Regions from separate parts of the Homo sapiens genome. Here regions 1, 2, 3 and 5 are each linked to region 4. Evidence: promoter capture Hi-C in 16 types of primary human blood cells and fetal thymus (Javierre and others, 2016). All regions are on one chromosome and are shown on one strand. The core of a region is centred on a gene start or on the middle of the fragment in contact, and the rest is flanking DNA. Distances in the headings are between cores, read along the strand shown. Region 1 holds the start of IL4R (interleukin 4 receptor). Region 2 has its middle 31 kb from the start of IL21R. Region 3 holds the start of GTF3C1 (general transcription factor IIIC subunit 1). Region 4 holds the start of ZKSCAN2 (zinc finger with KRAB and SCAN domains 2). Region 5 overlaps USP31 (ubiquitin specific peptidase 31).

Evidence for each region. Contacts are between HindIII fragments. The CHiCAGO score rates a contact against its expected background, and 5 or more counts as called.
Region 1: a contact is called between the fragment with the promoter of IL4R here and the fragment with the promoter of ZKSCAN2 in region 4, in 1 of 17 cell types (endothelial precursors). The highest score is 7.1, in endothelial precursors.
Region 2: a contact is called between a fragment that was not itself captured here and the fragment with the promoter of ZKSCAN2 in region 4, in 1 of 17 cell types (total B cells). The highest score is 5.9, in total B cells.
Region 3: a contact is called between a fragment that was not itself captured here and the fragment with the promoter of ZKSCAN2 in region 4, in 2 of 17 cell types (naive CD8 T cells and total B cells). The highest score is 6.6, in naive CD8 T cells.
Region 5: a contact is called between a fragment that was not itself captured here and the fragment with the promoter of ZKSCAN2 in region 4, in 1 of 17 cell types (naive CD8 T cells). The highest score is 5.3, in naive CD8 T cells.

What each region holds. Positions count from the first base shown.
Region 1 is chr16:27,312,429-27,316,300 of GRCh38, reverse strand. It overlaps IL4R (interleukin 4 receptor), which reads right to left and starts at 2,327. Exons shown (of 11, transcript NM_000418.4): 1 at 2,281-2,327. RefSeq lists silencers at 1,587-1,636, 2,077-2,286, 2,307-2,606 and an enhancer at 2,384-3,114. The HindIII fragment of the contact is 16,225 bases long and covers 1-3,872 here.
Region 2 is chr16:27,368,771-27,372,853 of GRCh38, reverse strand. No RefSeq gene overlaps it. Among named protein-coding and RNA genes, the nearest start is that of IL21R, 31 kb to the left of the region's middle. RefSeq lists a silencer at 2,840-3,040. The HindIII fragment of the contact is 4,499 bases long and covers 194-4,083 here.
Region 3 is chr16:27,546,136-27,550,246 of GRCh38, reverse strand. It overlaps GTF3C1 (general transcription factor IIIC subunit 1), which reads left to right and starts at 334. Exons shown (of 37, transcript NM_001520.4): 1 at 334-577. The coding sequence starts at 357. KATNIP (katanin interacting protein) reads right to left here and starts at 103. Exons shown (of 28, transcript NM_015202.5): 1 at 70-103. The coding sequence starts at 76. RefSeq lists enhancers at 238-347, 358-437. The HindIII fragment of the contact is 1,169 bases long and covers 1,409-2,577 here.
Region 4 is chr16:25,256,595-25,260,236 of GRCh38, reverse strand. ZKSCAN2 (zinc finger with KRAB and SCAN domains 2) reads left to right here and starts at 2,392. Exons shown (of 7, transcript NM_001012981.5): 1 at 2,392-3,508. The coding sequence starts at 3,110. It overlaps ZKSCAN2-DT (ZKSCAN2 divergent transcript), which reads right to left and starts at 2,660. Exons shown (of 1, transcript NR_170220.1): 1 at 1-2,660. RefSeq lists enhancers at 1,531-1,610, 1,731-2,050, 2,466-3,026 and silencers at 2,261-2,460, 2,541-2,780. The HindIII fragment of the contact is 3,031 bases long and covers 265-3,295 here.
Region 5 is chr16:23,142,731-23,146,622 of GRCh38, reverse strand. All of the region lies in intron 1 of USP31 (ubiquitin specific peptidase 31), which reads left to right. Among named protein-coding and RNA genes, the nearest start is that of USP31, 4.8 kb to the left of the region's middle. The HindIII fragment of the contact is 4,574 bases long and covers 1-3,892 here.

The sequences.
Region 1 (3,872 bases), core at 1,078-3,577, 2.1 Mb before region 4:
CCACCTGGGCTCAAGCCATCCTCCCACCTCAGCCTCCCAAATAGCTGGGGCTAGAGGCACCTGCTACCACGCCTGGCTAAGTTTTTAAATTTTTTTTGTAGGAACAGGATCTCACTATGTTGCCCAGGCTGGTCTCAAACTCCTGGGTTCAAGCGATCCTCTCTCAGCCTCCCAAAGTGCTGGGATTACAGGTGTGAGTCACTGCGCCCAGCTTGTCACTTCTTTGACAATTCATTTCAGCTCCTTTTTGAACTGGGAGCATTAGAAAACTGAACACCCCCACCCTTGCCCTGGGCATTTTGCAACCGGGATTGTATTGTATTAAACATATCAGTCATTGAGTCACTTCCTAGCATTTGGAAACCCTTAGGTTATCTCGGACCTGCCGGTAACTGCATGTGTTGTAAATGGGGTGAGTGACTGCAGGTTTTCCTCCCTGCTGCCTCCCCAGCGTCTCCCTCCAGATTCAGATCCAGAGGCCCAGGGTGGGGCCCAGGAATCTGCATTGTTGCTTTTACAACTCAAGCCAAGGTGAATACACTGGCCCAAGTTCCTTGGCATGGCATTCAAGGCTTTCCACAATGCAGCCCAGCCCAACTTTCCATCCATCTCTGGCTTCTGCTTACTCCCTAGGTTCTGTACACAGTGCCCTTTCACACTTCCCAGCCTCCGCCCACTCTGTGCCTCCCTTTACCTCCCATCCTCTACCTGCCAGACTCCCCTGCTCTACTCACAAGGCTAGCTCAGGGTCCCTGGGTGCTGGGAAGCCTGGCCCAGTGACCTTTGAAGAGCTGATCCCCTCTGGCTTGTGGTCCTGCAGCCGCTGGTGCATCCGCACCCTCCCAGCCCTCACGTCTGTCTTCCTGCAGAGGGGGTGCTCCTTGAGGCAAGCACCAGTGCCCAGAACACCACCCAGGGCCTCGCAGGAGCTGAATGAGTGCTAGTGAGTGAATGAGTGGCTTAGCAGGTCACCTCCCATTCATGGGCTGGGCTAGCCGAGTTCTAAGAAACCCCTGCAGGACCCTGGAATGCCCTAATGTGCAGGACACCCTGGCCAAACCTACACCTGAGCCTGTTTCCCCATTGGACTTTGGGATTTTGATAAAGGCACTGAGGTCCCAGCAAATGCCTTGGGCTCCTCATAGGCTACTGGGGGCAGGGAAGTGCAGTGGGTCATGCCTCCCAGAGGGCTGGGGAAGGGGAGAGACTAGAACTGGAGCAGGGTTAGCGCTGGCCTGGGGGCATTCCTTGAACCCCAGAAGCAGACAAACTAGTGGTCCCCTATCTTGCTTAAGTCTAAGAAATCCAGATTTTGTTTAAAAAAAAAATCAGGGCTCAGTGGCTCACACCTGTCATCCCAGCATTTTGGGAGGCCGAGGTGGGAGGATCACTTGAGGCCAGCCTGGACAACATAGTGAGACACCATCTTTATAAAATAAATTTTTAAAAATAAAATAAAGATCAGATTCCTGGGTTTACTGAATCTGAATCTCAGGGCAAGGACCTGGGAATCTGCATTTTAAGCAAATCTCCCGGAGATTCTGGTTATTGTGGGGGCTCCTCAAACGTGATTGAGAGATGGAGAGCAGCTGGCTCTGGCGTGGGATTGCCTGGGCTCTAGTCCTGCTGCCCCACGGACTCCCAAGTGGGCGGCACCTTAGGGCAAGTTACTAAAGCGGCTGGGGTCTTGGTGACCTCATCTGTACAATGTCCATGACGCACAGCACCGGCCACAGAGAAGTTAGTGGGAGGTTTCACTTGGCATCCTTTCAGTAAAACAAGTCCCAGTCAATGATCGCGATTATTGGGTCCATCTGATATTCGGAGGCGGAGACCGCCCCGATTCACTGACCTACTACTCAAATTTACAGTTCTCAGAACTTTCCCCACCCTTTCTCTCTCCGAAGTCCTCACTGACTTCCTGAGCGCAGGGCTGGGCGCCACTGCCCGGAGAAGAGGGGCTGCGTGGCCTCCGACAGCCTAACCCCAAGCCCCCCACCCCCGCAGGCCGTCCCGGCGGAGGTCTCACTGCCAGCACCGGCTTTGGGGAGCGCTGGGTGTCCACGTACCCCGGGCCTCGCGCCTCCGCTGCCGTTCGGCGGCAAGGACGGAACCGGGCGCTGCTCCGCGCGCACCGAGAGTCGCGGGCTCGGGCCCCGCTCGGAGTCGGGGTGGTCCCCGTGGTCCCCGCCGGCGGCCGAGCCCTTCCCGAACGCCCTCAGCCGGCGTGCCCGGGCGATACCTTCGCAACCCGATCCGCGCGCGGGCCCCGGATCCTACCTGCGCGCCCCTGCTCCATTCGCCGTCCGGGCGCCCAAGCGGGAAGTGGGGGACCCCTGGGTGGCCCTTCCCTGGCCCGCGCCGCGCGGGGCTTTCCTGGGCGCGGAGACCCAGCCCGCCCCGGCTTCCTGCTCCCCGCCCCGGCGCCCGGCAGATTTGCATGCGCCGCCCCGCCCGGCGCGCCCGGCCCGGGTCCCGGCCACCTCGCGCCCCTGTCGCTGTCCCCGCCGCCGCCGCCGGACAGTCCGAGCCGCCGTCCTCTCCTGGGGGCGACCCCAGCACCTCGCTGGGTGTCTTGCCGCGCGCTTCCTCCCACGCCGTAGCCCGAGGTCACGCCCAGCGGAGAACTCTGCAGTGGATCCCCTTGGTCTCGGAATAAAACGCCCACGCCGACCAGGCCTCCAGGACCTGCTCCTGCCTGGCCTCCGCGGCCTCTTTTGCGCCGGGGCAGTTGCGTTTGGTGGGGGAGGGCTGGGCGACTGGAATCCTCCTCCCCTTCCTAACAGCCCGGCTTCCAAGTGAGAGTGGTTGCACATTCTTCAATAAATGTTTACCCAACTCCTACTCCAGCCACATTTGGATAGTAAAACAGCCCTTCAATCAGTAACTAGTACAATCTGTCGGGCACTGCAAATGTTAACTCGTTCAATCCTGGCAACTACCCTATAAGGGAGTGATACTATCACCGGTTTTACAAATCAGGAAACTGAGGCACAGAGTCCTTAAGAAATTCAAAATGGGTTGGGCAAAGTGGCTCATGCCTGTAATCCCAGCACTTTGGGAAGCTGAGGCGGGAGGATCACTTGAACCCCATAGTTCGAGACCAGCCTGGGCAACCCTGTTAGCGAGACCCCTATCTACAAAAATTGACATTTATAAAATTTTAAAAAAGAAAAGAAAGAAACTCAGAATCACTCTGCAGGTAAGCAGGAGCAGGGGTGGAGCTGGGATTCGAACACAGGCCCCATAGACCATTAACGTCTGGACACCATAAGAACCCGGATGCAGCCAGATGACTGGGGGGAAAACACTCAACAAAGTATTTCAGGTCAGGAGGGCCCAAGAAGAAAGTAGGGACCTCTTAGACCAGTGGGGCAGGTGGTCTGGAAGAGGCTTTTTGAGTAGAGGCCATTTGAGCTGAGACTCTGAAGAGCCTATGGGGGAAGACTTGTGTAGGGAGAGGGAAGAGCTAGTGCAAAGGCCCTGTGGGAACCAGCTCAGCCTGCAGGAGGAATTGCTGAAGGCCGGCATGGCTGTGGAGCCCTGAGTGAGGAAAGAGCGGAGACAGGGGAGGTGGGAGATATTTGGACTCACACTGGGCAGTGCTGAGAACCCAGAGAGTAATTTGACCCCCTGCTGCCCTCAAGGAGCTCTCAGTTTGAGGGTGGAAGCCAAGGACTGCCCAATGGGATCAAGTGCTGTGGTGGAGGGTGAGGGTTGGCTTCCCAGGGCAGGGGCCACTGCACGTCAATCATTCTTTTTTTTTTTTTGAAGATGGGGTCTCATTCCATTGCCTAGGCTGGAGTGCAGTGGGTGATCTCAGCTCACTGCAACCTCCACTTCCTGAGTTCAAGCAATTCTCCTGCCTCAGC
Region 2 (4,083 bases), core at 1,194-3,693, 2.1 Mb before region 4:
GCTTGGGTGGTGGAGCTGGCTTCAGTGAAAGTAGTTTAGTAGCAGAGTCAGGCCGACTCTGCACAGAGAGGGTAGAGGAGTGGGTGCAGAGGAAGGAAGTGAAGCCCAAGAGAGGAGACAGCTTTTGAGCACAAGCACTGTGGCTGGGGGAGAGAAGGCGAGAGAGAAATAGGAGCCGGGGTGGAGGGAAGCTTGGGCTGTTTGAAGATGGAAAGACTTGAGTAGATATGTGTGGCAATGAGGAAAGGCCAGCAGAGGGAGGCAGGTGAAGACACAGGGGAGTGATGGTGTTTTAGGGTCCAGAGGGAGAAGAGAGCTCAGCCTGGGAGAGAGGGAATGACCCCGCATCAGGAATGGCTGCATCATTGGAGGGGCACTGTGCAAAATAAAAATGCAGGTCTTCTTATTCAAAAAGGGCTGATAATTTGGCCAGGCGCGGTGGTTCACGCTTGTAATCCCAGCACTTTGGGAGGCCAAGGCGGGCGGATCACTTGAGTCCAGCAGTTTGAGACCAGCCTGGCCAACATGGTGAAACCCCGTCTCTACTAAAAATAAAAAATTAGCTGGGCATGGTGGCTCATGCCTGCAATCCCAGCTACTTGGGAGGCTGAGGCAGGAGAATTGCTTGTACTCGGGAGGCAGAGGTTGCAGTGAGCCGAGATTGAGCCACTGCACTCCAGCCTAGGGGACAAGAGCGAGACTCCGTCTCAAAAAGAAAAAACAAAAGGGCTGAGAAATCAAGATGGTCACTCTTGGTTCCTGGATTAGAAGTGGGCTGAGTTGTGGCTTCTGGCTGCCCAGCAGATACCTCTGGGGTAGGAATGGCTGTCACCATGCTCCACCCCAAGGTCCCGTGAGGTGAGCTACTGACCTTGATGATCCTTTGCACCTGTGCCCAGGCCTCCTTCAAGGGCAGAAGGCAGCAATGGTCATGGATGGTGGTGGAATGGGGAGGATGAGTAGGGCCTGGTGTGCTGGGGACAGAGCAGCAGGTGGCCAGGAGCCTGTACCAGGGAAGCAGGCAGGTGGCAGATGTCCCAGGGAAGCAGGCAGGAGGTGGGACCCTGTGTGAGCTGAGGCTCCAAGCCCTCAATGGGTGCTCCTTGGTCCCATTAAACCTCCCTATAAAACACAACTTCAGAGATAAAATTTTTAAGAATTTCTTTTTCTTTTTTTATTTTTTTTTGAAACAAAGTCTCGCTCTGTTGCTCAGGCTGGAGTGCAGTGGCACAGTCTTGGCTCACTGCAACCTCCACCTCCCGGGTTCAAGTGATTCTCCTGCCTCAGCCTCCCTGAGTAGCTGGGATTACAGGCATGCACCACCATGCCTGGCTAATTTTTGTATTTTTAGTAGAGACGGGGTTTCACCATATTGGCCAGGCTGGTCTCAAACTCTTGACTTCGAGTGATCCGCCCACCTTGGCCTCCCAAAGTGCTGGGATTACAGGTGTGGGCCACTGCGCCTGGCCAAGAATTTCAAAACTGGGACTTCAGAGCATGACACTGAAGAGTAGGGGTCCTCCGAGCAGGGGGGTACGGGCTGCTGCCTGGCGCACAGCTGTGGAGCCAGCCTGCCCTACGTCCACTCTAACAAGAAAGGGTGGATGCCGATATGGAATGGGCAGGAATTTGGCAGGATCCTCTGGAAGTGAAGATTGAGTGCCAATAAAGAGGGAGAGGATGGGGATTGGGGAAGGAGCTTGAGGAAGAGTCCAGAGCCTAAAGTTGGATGCGTGAATGCACCTGCACGTTCATTTCCCATTGCTTCTCTGACAAATTTCCACAAGTTTAGTGGCCTAAAACTGAAATTTATGATCTTGCAATTCCAGAGGTCAGAAGTCTGAAACTGGTCTCACTGAGCTCAAAATCAGGGTGTTAACAAGGCTGTGTTCATTCCAGAAACTCTAGGGAAGTCTGTTCCTTGACTTTTCCAGTTTCAAGTGGTCACCTGCATTCCTTAGCCCATGGCCCTTCCCTCCATCTTCAAAGCCAGCAGCATAATATTTTGAAATCTCTCTCTGACTTGGCTTCTCCTGCATCTCTCACTTATGAAGATCCTTGGGATTATATTGGGCCTGTCTGGATAATTAAGGATAATCTCCCTCTACATCTCAGGTTCAGTTGATTAGCAACCCTGCTTCCATCTGTAACCTTAATCCCCCCCTTGCCATGTAATGTAACATGTTCACAGGTTCCAGGGATTGGGACATGGACATCTTGGGGGGTTCATTATTGTACCTACTACAATTTTTAAGGTTGCTTTATGACTGCAAAAGAAAACTCACAGTGGTTTAAAGAAAAGCACACTTACAGTTTATTTAAGAATTTAAGGTTGGTTTGATCACTTGGTGATGTAATCAAAGCCCCAGGCAGGCCTTCTTCTTCTTCCACTCCACCATATTCAGAATGCCTCCTTTCATCTCCAGGCTTGTCTCCTCATGATTGCAAAAGCACCATCCAAAGCAGAAAGGAAGGTGGCAAAGGAGCCTTCTCCTCCATGCTGCTTTTTGATTAGGAAGGAGAACTGCTGACTTGCTCTGTGGTTCCATGGCAGAGAGGAAGGTCAGGCAGCCCAGCTATGTTGACCAACTCAAGCTAAATTTGCTGCTAGAAATCAGGAAATCATGGATGGTGGTGGAAGGGGGAGGATGCGTAGGGCCTGGTGTGCCCAGGGCAGAGCAGCAGGTGGCCAAGAGCCTGTCCCAGGAAATGCCAGTTCCTGGGTGGGATCACGCTAAGGTGGGTCATCAGTATATAGGAGTGGTGGTTCAGGGCAGCCAGAATCAGAGATCAGCCTATAGCTGGGATCAAAGATCCATCTGTGGTGAGGGTCAGGGGTCAGCATGTGGCTGGGGCCAGCCTGCAACCAGGATCATGAGTAAGTCAGTAACATGGGTCGGGACTCAGTTCCTGGCTTGAGTCAGAGCTGTTCTGTGGCTGAGGACAGGAGGTGGACTGTGGCCAGGATCAGAAGTCAGTCTGTGGCTGGATCAGGGTCATTCTGTGGTTGGAGTCAGATATCATAATGGAGTTGGGATCAATCAGTTTAGTCTTCTCTGTCTGTCTTTCTCTCTGCATCTCTGCTTCTCTCTGTCTCATTCTCCTTTGCTGTAAACACCTGTTGGAAGCTCAGCAACTTGGGTCCATGGGGAAGAGGGAAGTTGAGTCTGGGCAAGGTCCTATAAGTCCCGGTATGGAAGAACATAAGGGAAAAAGAGAAAAATGTCAGGAATATAAAGATATTCCCTAGAAAAATGTCAGGAATATAAATATATGTATGTATGATGAGAAATGAATGATATAAAACCGCAAATACGCAAACACTGACTCTGCATGTAAACAACACACAGAAGTGGCACAAACAGATACAAACACAAGTGGGTTGAATGATGGGATTGGGACAATTTTTTGTCCTGGATTACTGTTGCTCCATTCTGCCCTTTTTGTAATAAAGTCAAATTAAATTTAGAATGTCATTATTTCCTCTAATTATGTTTTATACCCTCACCTCCCACAAAATCCACAGACATATTCAGTGTAATATTAAGGATAATGTTAGCAGACTAGGCATGGTGGCTCACATCTGTAATCCTAGCACTTTGGGAGGCCGAGGTGGATGGATTGCTTGAACCCTAGGAGTCTGGGACTAGCCTAGGCAACATAGTGATTCCCTGTCTCTACAAAAAATTAAAAAACAAATTAGCCAGGCTTAGTGGTGTGTGCACCTGTGGTCACAGCTACTTGAGAGGCTGAAGTGGGAGAATCACATGAGCCCAGGTGTTCAAGGCTGCAGTGAGCCGGGATTGGGCCACTGCGCTCCAGCCTGGGTGACAGAGAAAGACCCTGTCTCAAAAAAAAAAAAAAAAGAAGAAGAAGAAGAATGTTAGCAAATACTTTTAAGGCATTAACTATTTGCAGGCATAGTTCTTTTTTTTTGAGACAGAGTCCCACTTGTTGCCCAGGCTGGAGTGCAGTGGCACAATCTCCGCTTGCTGCAACCTCTGCCTCCTGGGTTCAGGCAATTCTCCTGCCTCATCCTCCCGAGTAGCTGGGATTACAGGCACCCGCCACCATGTCTGGCTG
Region 3 (4,111 bases), core at 744-3,243, 2.3 Mb before region 4:
CCCAAAGCGCGGTCGGGAGGGATGGGAGAATAACAGCCCGACCTCCCGGAGGGGCCCACAGACACTCACCGTCCATCCCTAGAGGCGGCGGTTCCGGGAGCTCGAACCGGAAGCGGCCTCTACACTGTTTGCAGTTCCCCTGGTTACTGCGGGGCCCCGGACCAATGACGGTGGAGCTCCACTTACTGAGCCCGCCCCCGGGGAGTGACGTCATGCCGGCGCGCTGGAACTCCTCCTCCGAACCCTGGGTCTGACCCACCTCCCCGGGCCCCGGATCGTTGTGCGCAGGCGCGATGGACCAAGGCCCTTGGCGGTGCGTTGCGCATGCGCCCCGGGCGCCGCCGACTGAAGTAGCAATGGACGCGCTGGAGTCGTTGTTGGACGAAGTCGCTCTGGAGGGGCTCGATGGCCTGTGTCTGCCAGCGCTGTGGAGCCGGCTGGAGACGCGAGTGCCGCCCTTCCCGCTGCCTTTGGAACCCTGCACGCAGGAGTTTCTCTGGCGGGCCCTCGCCACGCACCCGGGCATCAGCTTCTATGAGGAGCCTCGGGAGCGACCCGACCTACAGCTCCAGGACCGGTCAGCGGGCGGCCTGGCCTGGCGGGCGGGCGGGCGGGCGCAGGGCCCGGGGGCTGATGGAGCTGGGGGCAGGGCGGGGGAATGGAGTGGGGCTGTGCAAGTACCGGAGGCCTGTTGATTGAGTTGGGGCACGGCGGTAAGGCTAATCTGGGGTCCCTCAGGCCTGGCAGGGCCCTGGAGTCCGATGGAGTTGGCGGGGGGAGGGGGAGAATCTAGTGATGTCCCGTTTTGTCCCTGTGTGTGTTTTGGGGTAATGGCGAACAGGATTGGGGATATTCTTCAGGCTTAAAAGAATGTTTCCTTTACATTGGAGGATAGGATTAGAGCAGGAAAGACACTTTAGAGCCAGACTGGAGACTCCTGAGATCAACAGACCCTCATGGTATATTCATTCGGTGCAGATAGCCTAGGGCAACTCGAGATCTGCGTATCAGGACAATTAGCGATAATGCTAAAAGCTGACATTTATCAGGGACTTCATGGGTGAGGTGCTGTTCTTTTTTTTCTTTTTTGAGATAGAGTCTCTCTCTGTGGCCCAGGCTGGAGTGCAGTGGCGCGATCTTGGCTCACTGCAACCTCCGTCCGCCTCCCAGGTTCAAGCGATTCTCGTGCCTCAGCCTCCTGAGTAACTGGGATTACAGGCATGTTCCACCACGCCCGGCTAATTTTTGCATTTTTAGTAGGTATGGGGTGTCATCATGTTGGCCAGGCTGGTCGCGAACTCCTGACCTCAGACAATCCGCACCTCTCGGCCTCCCAAAGTGCTGTGATTACAGGCGTGAGCCACGGCGCCCGGCCACATTGCTGTTCTAAGAATCTATTCTAGAAGCTTTAGGAGCTTAAACTCACTTGATCCTCACTTGATTAAACTCCGTTAAACAGGAGATTAAATTCACTTGATCCTCACCTATGAGGTAGGTGCTGTTATCGTCCTCATTTTACAGAGGAAGACACTGAGTCACAGAGAGGGATTATGTAACCTAAGGTTCTGGGGGCAATAAGTGACTAAGAATTGATTTGAACCCAGGCTATTTTCAGCGTCTGTGCTCTTAAGCCATATTGTGAGGGTCAGGGGAGGTTCCAAGAGGTAATAATGTCCAAGACAGGCCGGGTGCAGCAGCTCATGCCTGCAATCCCAGTACTTTGGGAGGCTGAGGTGGATGGGTCACAAGGTCGGCAGTTCAAGACCCGCCTGACCAACGTGGTGAAACCCTATCTCTACTAAAAATACAAAAATTAGCCTGGCGTGGTGGCGCATGCCTGTATCCCAGCTACTCAGGAGGCTGAGGCAGGAGAATCACTTGAACCTGGGAGACAGAGGTTTCAGTGAGCTGAGATTCAGCCATTGCACTCCAGCCTGGGTGACAGAGTGAGACTCTGTCTCAAAAATAAAATAAAATAATGTTCGAGACAAAACTTAAAGGTTGGATTTAGGCAGCCAGTTGGCAAAGAGGACTGTTGGACAGAGAACAGCAAATGTGAAGTAAGTGGCTGAAGTGTGGAATTGGAGGTAGGGAATGAGGAATAGCTAGGACTGTGCTAAGATCCTTAATACAACATGTTATTTAATTTTTACAGAAACCTTAGGAGATGGGTAATATTCTCCCCATTTTCCTGAAGAGAAAATCGAGGCCCTGAGGGGTCAAGTGGCATGCTAAAAGTCAACTAGCAAGGGAAGAACCCAGACTTTGAGGAAGGTCTGAGTTCAGATTCCAGCCAAATTGGACTGGAATCAAGTCTTTTAACCTACTTAAAGAGTTTATCAGCCTGTAATCCCAGCACTTTGAGAGGCAGAGGTGGGCGGATAACTTGAGGTCAGGAGTTCAAGACCAGTCCAGCCAACATGGTGAAACCCCATGTCTACTAAAAATACAAAAATTAGCTGGGCGTGGTGGTAGACGCCTGAAATCCCAGCTAGGTGGAGGCTGCAGTGAGCCGAGATTGTGCCACTGCACTCCAGCCTGGGTGACAGAGGGAGAATCCATCTCAAAAAAAAAGCTTATCCTTTATCAAAAGGACAGTGAGAAGTCACTGAAGAGAGGGTCAGACTAGGGGCAAAGAGTGAAGTTGAGAGATTTTTAGTAATCTAGTCATGGTCTGGCTTACCATGGTGGGCGTGGGGATGAAGAGCACAGGCAGTCAAGACATAGTAGGCTGCTGTTTGGGCACCTGAGCGAACCCTGATTCTCATCTCTGAGGCTGGGAACACGGAAGAACAGCGTGGGGGTTGAGTCTGGGGGAGGTGGGGACTTTGCTGAAGAGACATGTGACACATTTAGCTTCAGGTTCTTTTGAGTTGTCCAAGTGAAGAGTCTTAATTAGTAAACATCTGGCTTCGTGGGAGTGAAAGCAGGCCAGAGGGAGGGACTGAGCTAGACATCTGTGAGTCATTCCTAGCAGCTGGTAATTAAAGCAGCTGGCTAAGATCAGCCCTAAGAGAGAGTGTAGTGTGGTTGGAGGTCTTGAGATATAGCTCTGCAGTGCACCTACATTTCAAGGCTGGATGGAGGGTGAGGGACTTTCAAAAGAAGACTGAGGCGGTGTGGCTGGAGAGGTAGAGGACAGTCAGGTCAGAGTGGTGTTCTGGAAGTTTGGGAGGAGACAGGATCATTTAAGAACGGAGGGTTGGGCTGGGTGTGGTGAATCATGCCTGTAATCCCAGCACTTTGGGAGGCCGAGGCAGGTGGATCATTTGGCCAACATCGTGAAACCCTCTCTCTACTAAAAATACAAAAATTAGCTGGGTGTGGTGGCAGGTGCCTGTGATCCCAGCTACTAGGGAGGCTGAGGCAGGAGAATCGCTTGAACCCAGAAGGTAGAGGTTGCAGTGAGCCGAGATTGCGCCACTGCACTCCAGCCTGGGTGACAAGATCAAAACTCAAGTCTTAAAAAAAAGGAATGGAGGGTTAAATGGTGCAGATAACACAGAGGGGGCAAGGAAGGAAAGGGCTGAAACATGTACATAGGATTTAGCCGCAATTAGACTAGTGTAGGATATGAGTGAGATTTCAAAATAAAACTCGACAAGCAGCCAGGCAAGGTGGCTCACACCTGTAATCCTAGCACTTTGCAAGGCTGAAGTGGGCAGATTACTTGAGCCCGGTAGTTCAAGACCAATCTGGGCAACATAGTGAGGGGAAAAAAAATTATATATATATATATGTATGTATTTTTTTTTTTTTTCAAAAAAAAAAAAACTTGACAAGCTTGGCTAACTGCATGAAAGAAGCACAAATGAAAAATGTCTCCATGGTGTTGTAAGAGGCACATGGAAGAAAGCGGTAGTAAGAGGGGAAAGAAGGGACTTAATTGGAGCTGGGGAGAGGTAATCATATTTGGAATGGGAGGCATTTAATAGACAAGTGAAGACATTGGATCTGTATTTGGAGAAAAAGGACTGAGGATTCAAAGGTGAGACTTGTTAACATGCAGGCGGTAATGCAAACCATGAAAATGGGTTAGGATATTAGAGAGATAACTAAGGAGAGATGGAAAGATGAGATCTTAAAGGGAGGAAAGCTTTGGCCACTTGTG
Region 4 (3,642 bases), core at 1,143-3,642:
AAGAACCTCTAGCTTCATTCTAATCCAACTTCAGTACTAAATGACATTCCCACTGGTTGCCATGACAGTTGACAATCACCGTGATGACCCGAAGAGACCAAAAAAAGGACAAAAAAAGGGGCAGCTCCTTGATTCCAGGAAAATCTACCTCCCTTCCCAAGAAAAAACATGAATATTCCTCCTCTTGTTCTTAATTTTTATTTTTTTTAGAGACAGGGTCTTACCATGTTGCCCAAGCTGGTCTCCAATTCCTGGGCTCAAGCTTTCCTTCTGCCTCCTCGCCTTGCTCTTAATGCCCAGCCCCTTCATTAAGGACACCTGACGACTAAGCTCTGATTCTTTTGTTTTTTTTTTCTGTTTTGTTTTGTTTTTGACACAGAGTCTCACTTTGTCAACCAAGCTGGAGTGCAGTGGCACAATCTCAGCTCATTGCAACCTCCGCCTCCCGGGTTCAAGTTGAGTCTCATGCCTCAGCCTCCCAATCAGCTAGAATCACAGGCGTGTGCCACCATGCCCAGCTAATTTTTGTATTTTTAGTAGAGACGGGGTTTCGCCATGTTGGCCAGGCTGGTCTTAAACTTCTGACCTCAAGCGATCCACCTGCCTTGGCCTCCCAAAATGCTGGGATTATAGGCGTGAGCCACCACGACCAGCCTAAACTCTTGATTTTTTTAATCCTGCCCAAATTCCTATCTAAGGGATCTGGGGAGTCATGACCTACAAACCATAAATTCTCATCAGATGGGTTTTATTTAATCCTATATATGATGACTTACTTTCCATTCTGACTCTGGCATAACATTACGTGACAAAAAGAAAGTCAAAATATTTTACCCCAAAACATGTTTCCTTGCCCTATTTTGCAATTTCTTCCATAAAGGACAGCATTTTCCCCCAAAAGCTATCCTTTGTGGGGTAAAATGTGCATCTGTAAAGAACATCTATTAACATAGCTAGATGTTTTTCTTCCAGGCCCTCCCAATCCTAAACGGATTAACTAAAAGTCTAACACCTTTTGAAGATCTGAATAGGAAACATTTGTCATCTATTATCTCTAAGAGCAGCCACCATAAGACTTCAAAAGAACCTTAGTCTCCACTATCTTTTATCTTAACCTGAACACTTCCTTTCTATCAATCCCAGGTCTTCAGACAAACTCAACCAATTGTCAACTAGAAAATATTTAAATTTACCTATAGCCTGGAAGCCCCCACCCCCACCCCTTTGCGTTGTCCCGCCTTCCTGGACCAAACCAATGTATTTAATGTATTTGACTGATGTCTCATGCCAACCTAAAACATAAAACCAAGCTGCACCCCGACCACCTTGGGCACATGTTCTCAGGGCCTCGAGAGGGCTGTATCACAGGCTGTGGTTACTCGTATTTGGCTCACAATAAATCTCTTCAAATATTTTGCACGGTTTTACTTTTCGTCAACACTCCCTATTACCTGTAACTTCTCAGTTTCCAAGAGCTGAGAGCTTGATTTGCGAGCTACCCTCCCACTTCTCCAATTCCATGGCCACTGAATGAAGGCTGCACTGCCTGATACTCACACTTGGTCTCATGCGCTGGCTCTGCAACAACGGACAGACAAGAGTTCCTTTGGGGGAAACCAGCTTCCCAGGTGACACTGTTGCCTCTGCTACATGCGCAAAGCGCAGCCTGGCACATAGTAGGTGCTCAAGAGAGGGAAAGCCGGGTCTATGAATTCAGGGACAGGGGCAGCACCAGAAGAGAGCAAGCTGGGGCCTGGCTGGCTGAACCCTGGCCCCGAGACCCCTGTGACCCCCCTTCTCATCAGGATGCACCACATGAACCTCCCCAACGCGAGGGCCAACAAGTGGCCCCAGATGAGACCGCGCCGGGAAGGGCCTGGGGCCACGCACAGATACTTCCGCCAGAAAAACACCACGCCGCGCCGTGCACCTCCGCCAGAGGAAGAAGGTCCCGCAGGGTCGGGGTAACCGCTCCATCCCCGACCGCAACCCTGGACCAGGTACAAGGAACAGATCCCTCCACCGGAACGCCGTGTCCCTCCGCCAGACACAGGAGTCCCCGCTCCCGTGCTCTCCTTCCCCGGCAGCCAGGCCCCGGTGCCGACTCCTCCGCCTCAGGGAGGCCCCGCCGCCGCCTAGATTCTCCGCCTGAAGCGGGACTCGCGACGGCAGGTTCCCTAGAATCCCTCTGTGTCCCTCCGCCCCGGGGAGGACCCTCCGCGCCCCTCTACAATCTTAAAGTCCCTCAGCGACGAGTCACCGCGCCGCGCGCTCTCGCGAGAGTCCACCGCACGGCCCCCCCCCCCTCCCCCAGCCCCTCGCCCGCCAGGACGCCTCGCGCGGGCCCCGCGGCGCTCGGTGGCAGGCGGCGCATGCGTGACTGCGGTTCCCAGCGCCCCCCGCGCTCTCCGCGGGCCGAGTGGACGAGGCCGAACGCGAGCAGCCTGCCGCTGCCCCCTGCGAGCCCTGGCTTCGCCCCGCAGCTCTTCTCCCTTCCGGGCGGAACAGTTTTTGCGGCCTTTCCTCGGCGGCAGCGGTTTCCTCAGGACGGTCGGGGCCGTCGTGGGCCCGAAAGAGCCCGGCGCCGCTCTCGGAATCCGGCGGCCCCAGCGGCACCCGCGGCGGCCTGGACGTGCTGCGGTGACCCGAGCCCGGAACCTGGCGCCGGGCGGGGCCTGCACATCCGGCCCCACCCACTCGGGGACTCGCCTCTCCGCGCCCGACCCGGGAGTAGCGGACACACCCCCTCCCGGCCCGGCTGTCCGCCTCCGCCCAGCCTTTCCTCAGCCTGCTTCATTTTTCTCCCAGTCGTCCAGCCTCCCGGTTTCCGACTTTGCACTAAGAGGGATGCACTCTGGAAAACCACATTGCGCGGTCACATCTTGTTTGGAGAAGAGGCCAGGCTTTTGCATCTTAGAGTATACGTTCACCTTTTCAAGGGCCTGGCATAGATTTGATTAATCAGCCTGGAATACCCTGTTCCTGCCGACCTGGCCGTTTTTACCTCCGTACCTTATCACACTCCCAGGAACATTAAGCAGGGAGCGCTTGGAGTCTTCTTTGGGTCCCCACCTTGAGCTAGACGTGAAGTTGACCCCTGGGCTGCAGCATGGCTGTCGCCCTCGACTCTCAGATCGACGCGCCCCTGGAGGTTGAGGGATGCCTAATAATGAAGGTGGAAAAGGACCCTGAGTGGGCATCAGAGCCCATTCTGGAAGGATCGGATAGCTCTGAGACCTTCCGCAAATGCTTCAGGCAATTCTGTTATGAGGATGTGACTGGACCCCATGAAGCTTTCAGTAAACTCTGGGAACTTTGCTGCCGGTGGCTGAAGCCAGAAATGCGTTCCAAGGAGCAAATACTTGAGCTGCTGGTGATTGAGCAGTTTCTCACCATTTTACCCGAGAAGATTCAGGCTTGGGCACAGAAGCAGTGTCCGCAAAGTGGAGAGGAAGCGGTGGCCCTGGTAGTGCATTTGGAGAAAGAGACTGGAAGACTAAGACAGCAGGTGAGAGAGGATTTTCCAAATTTTTGTACTTAGAAAAAAGGGAATGGGAAAGGCATGTGGGCAGGGATGTATTGCAGAAAGACGTGCTCTTCAGAGAAAGATAAATGGTACTAATAAAAGACCCTATAAGGGGG
Region 5 (3,892 bases), core at 832-3,331, 2.1 Mb after region 4:
TTGGCAATTTGAATGGAAGTACTTGACTGAGATAGGGACTGGAAAAAAAGATCTATGTCAGTGATCTCAAAATTATTATTATTATTATTATTTTTGAGATGGAGTCTCACTCTGTCGCCCAGGCTGGAGGGCAGTGGCCTGATCTCGGCCCACTGCAACCTCTGCCTCCTGTGTTCAATCAAGCAATTCTCCTGTCTCAGCCTCCCAGGTAGCTGGGACTACAGGCGCCCGCTACATGCCCAGTTAATTTTTGATCCACCTGCCTCGGCCTCCCCAAGTGCTGAGATTACAGGCGTGAGCCACCGTGCCCAGCTGAGATCTCAAAATTAGAAAGGGAGAATGATCAGGAGAACTGACTACTGTAGGTCCACCCCCCGCCCCCCACCCCACACTGCCCCTCTTTGCTTACAATTGCCTGTAAGTAGCCACAGCATTTGTAAACTTTTCGAGGTCAGAGCCTAGTATTTAAGTTTGGTTTTCTCCTCTTTTCCAAAATGTGAAAATCAGTTTCTACAGCATCTTTGTATGTGAACATTTCCATTGCTTTTTATGAGTTTGTGTTCACTTTTTTATCCATTAAGCTGTGAACAGAAATGGGTCAATAATTCTAGAAGTACAGAGACTGATTTATAGGCATGCTTTGGCAGACATGAACAGATTCTTAGAGGCCTGGCTTTTTAAAAGTAATCTCCTGAACCTTTAGTAGGTTTCACTCTACATTCATTCATTCACCTCCCATTTATTGAAGGCTTACTTAATCAGTTAGGAATGCCTTCAGCCCAAGAAAGGAAAATCCCTAATGATAGTGCCTTAAGCAATGAAAACGTTGCAATTGGCAATTGGCACACACAGTGATTCCGGAGGTGGATGGTTCTATGGTTCAGTGGCTCGTTGGGCCCAACAAGGATTCAGACCATTTCTGTATTTCCACCTGTTGTCTTTTTAGCTATCATTGGCTTTTTGTTCTTAGGTTTGTCACCTCATGGTTGTCCAGTGATGGCAGCCACTGCACCTGGCATTCTACCCAGGACGGCAGGAAGTCATTAGGGAAATAAAAATTCTTCCAGAAGCCCCCTCAGCAGGCTTCTGCTGATATTTCATTGGCTATAACCATGTCAATTGGCTGTCACGGAGGCTGGAGGGTGGGCATTTGGGTTTTCCTGTCTTCACAGAGGAGATGAGTAAAGGAGGGGTTTACCTCCCAGGGAGCTATGAAGAGCTGAGTCGAGTAGGATCTAGGAAGTTCCCTGAGACAGCGCTTCTCATGCGTCAGTGTGCACATAATTCACCTGGGGATCTTGCTACAAAGGAAATTGAGATTCGGTAGAGCTGGAGCGGTGCCCAAGATTCTGCATTTCTAACAAGCTCCCTGGTGATGCCAGTGCTTTTGGCTCAAGGACCATCCTGTGTATAGCAGGCATCAAGGAACAAGGAAAGCATTACCAAAAAGGTGGCTCCTGAGCAGTGTTCTGAAAGATGAATAGAAATTTGCAGGGCAAGGAAGTGGTGGAGTTGCATGAAAGGGCGTGTGGTTTTGGGGAATAGACATTTAGTGGCTGGCTGCACCATAGAGAGCAGTGGGGGTGCAGGAAGCCTGGGAGAAGAGTGTTGGAAACTCACTGTGAAGGGCTTCGTGAGCTATGCTGGTTTGGATTTCATCCTCTGCAAGTTGAAAATCCAGAGGTGATTTTTAAGCAAGGAAGTGATATAATTAGATTCTTTTCCCCTTTTTATTCCCCCGGTTAGGTAACTCTGGCAAATTGATTACTTTTTAAAAAAAGGTTTTATTTTAGCTAAATTTGATGGGTATTATTTTGAATATAAAGAAAGTTGAATGCTAAGGCAGGACGCAGTGGCTCATGTCTGTAATCCCGGCACTTTGGGAGGCCAAGGTGGGTGGATCACTTGAGACCAATAGTTCCAGACCAGCCTGGACAACATGGTGAAACCCCATCTCTACTAAAAAAATACAAAAAGTAGCCGAGCGTGGTGGCACACACCTGTAATCCCAGCTACTCGGGAGGCTGAGGCACGAGAATCTCTTGAACCCAGGAGGTGGAGGTTGCAGTGAGCAGAGATCATGTCACTGCGCTCCAGCCTGGGTGACAGAGTGAGACTCTGCCTCAAAAAAAGGAAAAAAAAAAAAGAAAGGTAAACACCAGAAGGTGGACCTGAGGCATACCTCACTGTGCTTCGCCTGCTTGGGGTGGACATCGTTATTTCATTCAGATATTCTTCACTTTCACATCGCTCACATTCAGCCTTAGAATCCTGCTCAGTTCTAGAAGGGCTCCAGGCAGCCACCACCACCTAGTTGAAGTTGGCAGAGGAGATAAAACCAATTTGCCATCTTGAGATAGTTACCTTGAGGTTAGAAAAGCACTTACTATGTCTTTGTGCTTTTATTATCTTAAAACTTTAAGTTACTAATGCTTTTCTTTGTAAGTTTTTCAATTAGAGTTCTTTCTTCCTTTTTAACCACATTGATTTGAGTTTTAGGAGCTTGCCAAGTAGATGGTTTTTGGTTTTGGATGGGCTAGATGGTTGTTAAAGTTGGGTTTTCATTTCCCAGGATGAAATGAGTTGACTAGCTCAACCTTGATATGCTGTAAAAAATGTCTCTAGCCATTACCTTTATCCTTTCTCTTTTCACACAGATTTTTTGTTTGTTTGTTTCCTACTCTTAGAGCACTGGTTTTCAACACGGGCACTTTTGCCTGTCCTCACCCCACCCTGCCCCCACCCCCTGGGACATTTGTCGATGTCTGGAACCCTACTTGGTTGTCACAGCTGGGATCAGGGTGCTACTGGCATGTGGTGGTAGATTCCAGGGATGCTGCTAAATGTCACACAATGTGCAGGACAGCCCCCCTTACTAAAGGGTTTTCACCCCAAAGTGTCAGTAGTGCTGAGGCTGAGAAACTGTTTGGAGGAAAGTTTGGAGACTCAGCGCAAGTTTCCTTTTACTTCCCCAGCCTTTAAAATGGTTACCTTGTTATCTCTCGCGCTCTCTCTTTCTCTCTCTCTCCCCCCCCCCAACCTCTCCCTCTCTCTTTCTCCTTCTCTGTCTCTGAGTGTGTATATGTGTTTGCAGCAGCACTAGGGTAAAACTTGGGCTTCACTGGCAGGACCCTTGCATCACTTTCCTAGTAAAATAGTGAGAGTAAATAAATCACTTTGAATACATAATATGCCATTTTAAAGGGAATCAGCTTATTGCTTTCATAGGAGCATGGGTGCCCCAGATTCTTACAAATGCTTTCTGAGTTTTAGAGCTCAGAGCCGTTTTGCAGCAAGTAAAAAGATGGATGGTCATCTTTCAAGCAAGAAAGATAAATTTTATGGCAGCAGTTTTTAAATTGTGCTGGCAAAGAACAGCTAGCACAGAGTGATCTATTGATAAAAGAATTGTGGGGACTCCTTCCAGATTTGCAGTGAAACAAATGGTAATTGATGAATAGAATTCTCTCTCCCATTTTTTTTTCCTTGAACTTTGGTGCCTTGTGGTGCTTATTTATTAGTGAGAATTCTCAAGTCACAAAAGGAATAAACTTGTATAAGAGACTAGTGGTGAACAACCTGGCAATCAGAGGCTCACACTTGCTGAGTTTCCCAGCCTGCTTTTCCATGCACTCATGCTGGGGGTTCTGGTGCTATGCTGCAAACCCATGGTACACAGTTTTTTTCTTGTTAGTGTCAAGCTCTTTAGTATACTGATACTTCAGTGTTTTCCACAAAGCACACTGACTTCAGGGTGTCCCTTGGAAAAAATGAAATTGTGTAGGTCACATTTAGCTTTGTGACAGAGTATAAAATAAAAAGTACATCCCTTCCTGGTCAGTTCTCTGGTCCATCAAATGCCATCACTTGAGTTTTAGCAAAGCTCCACACC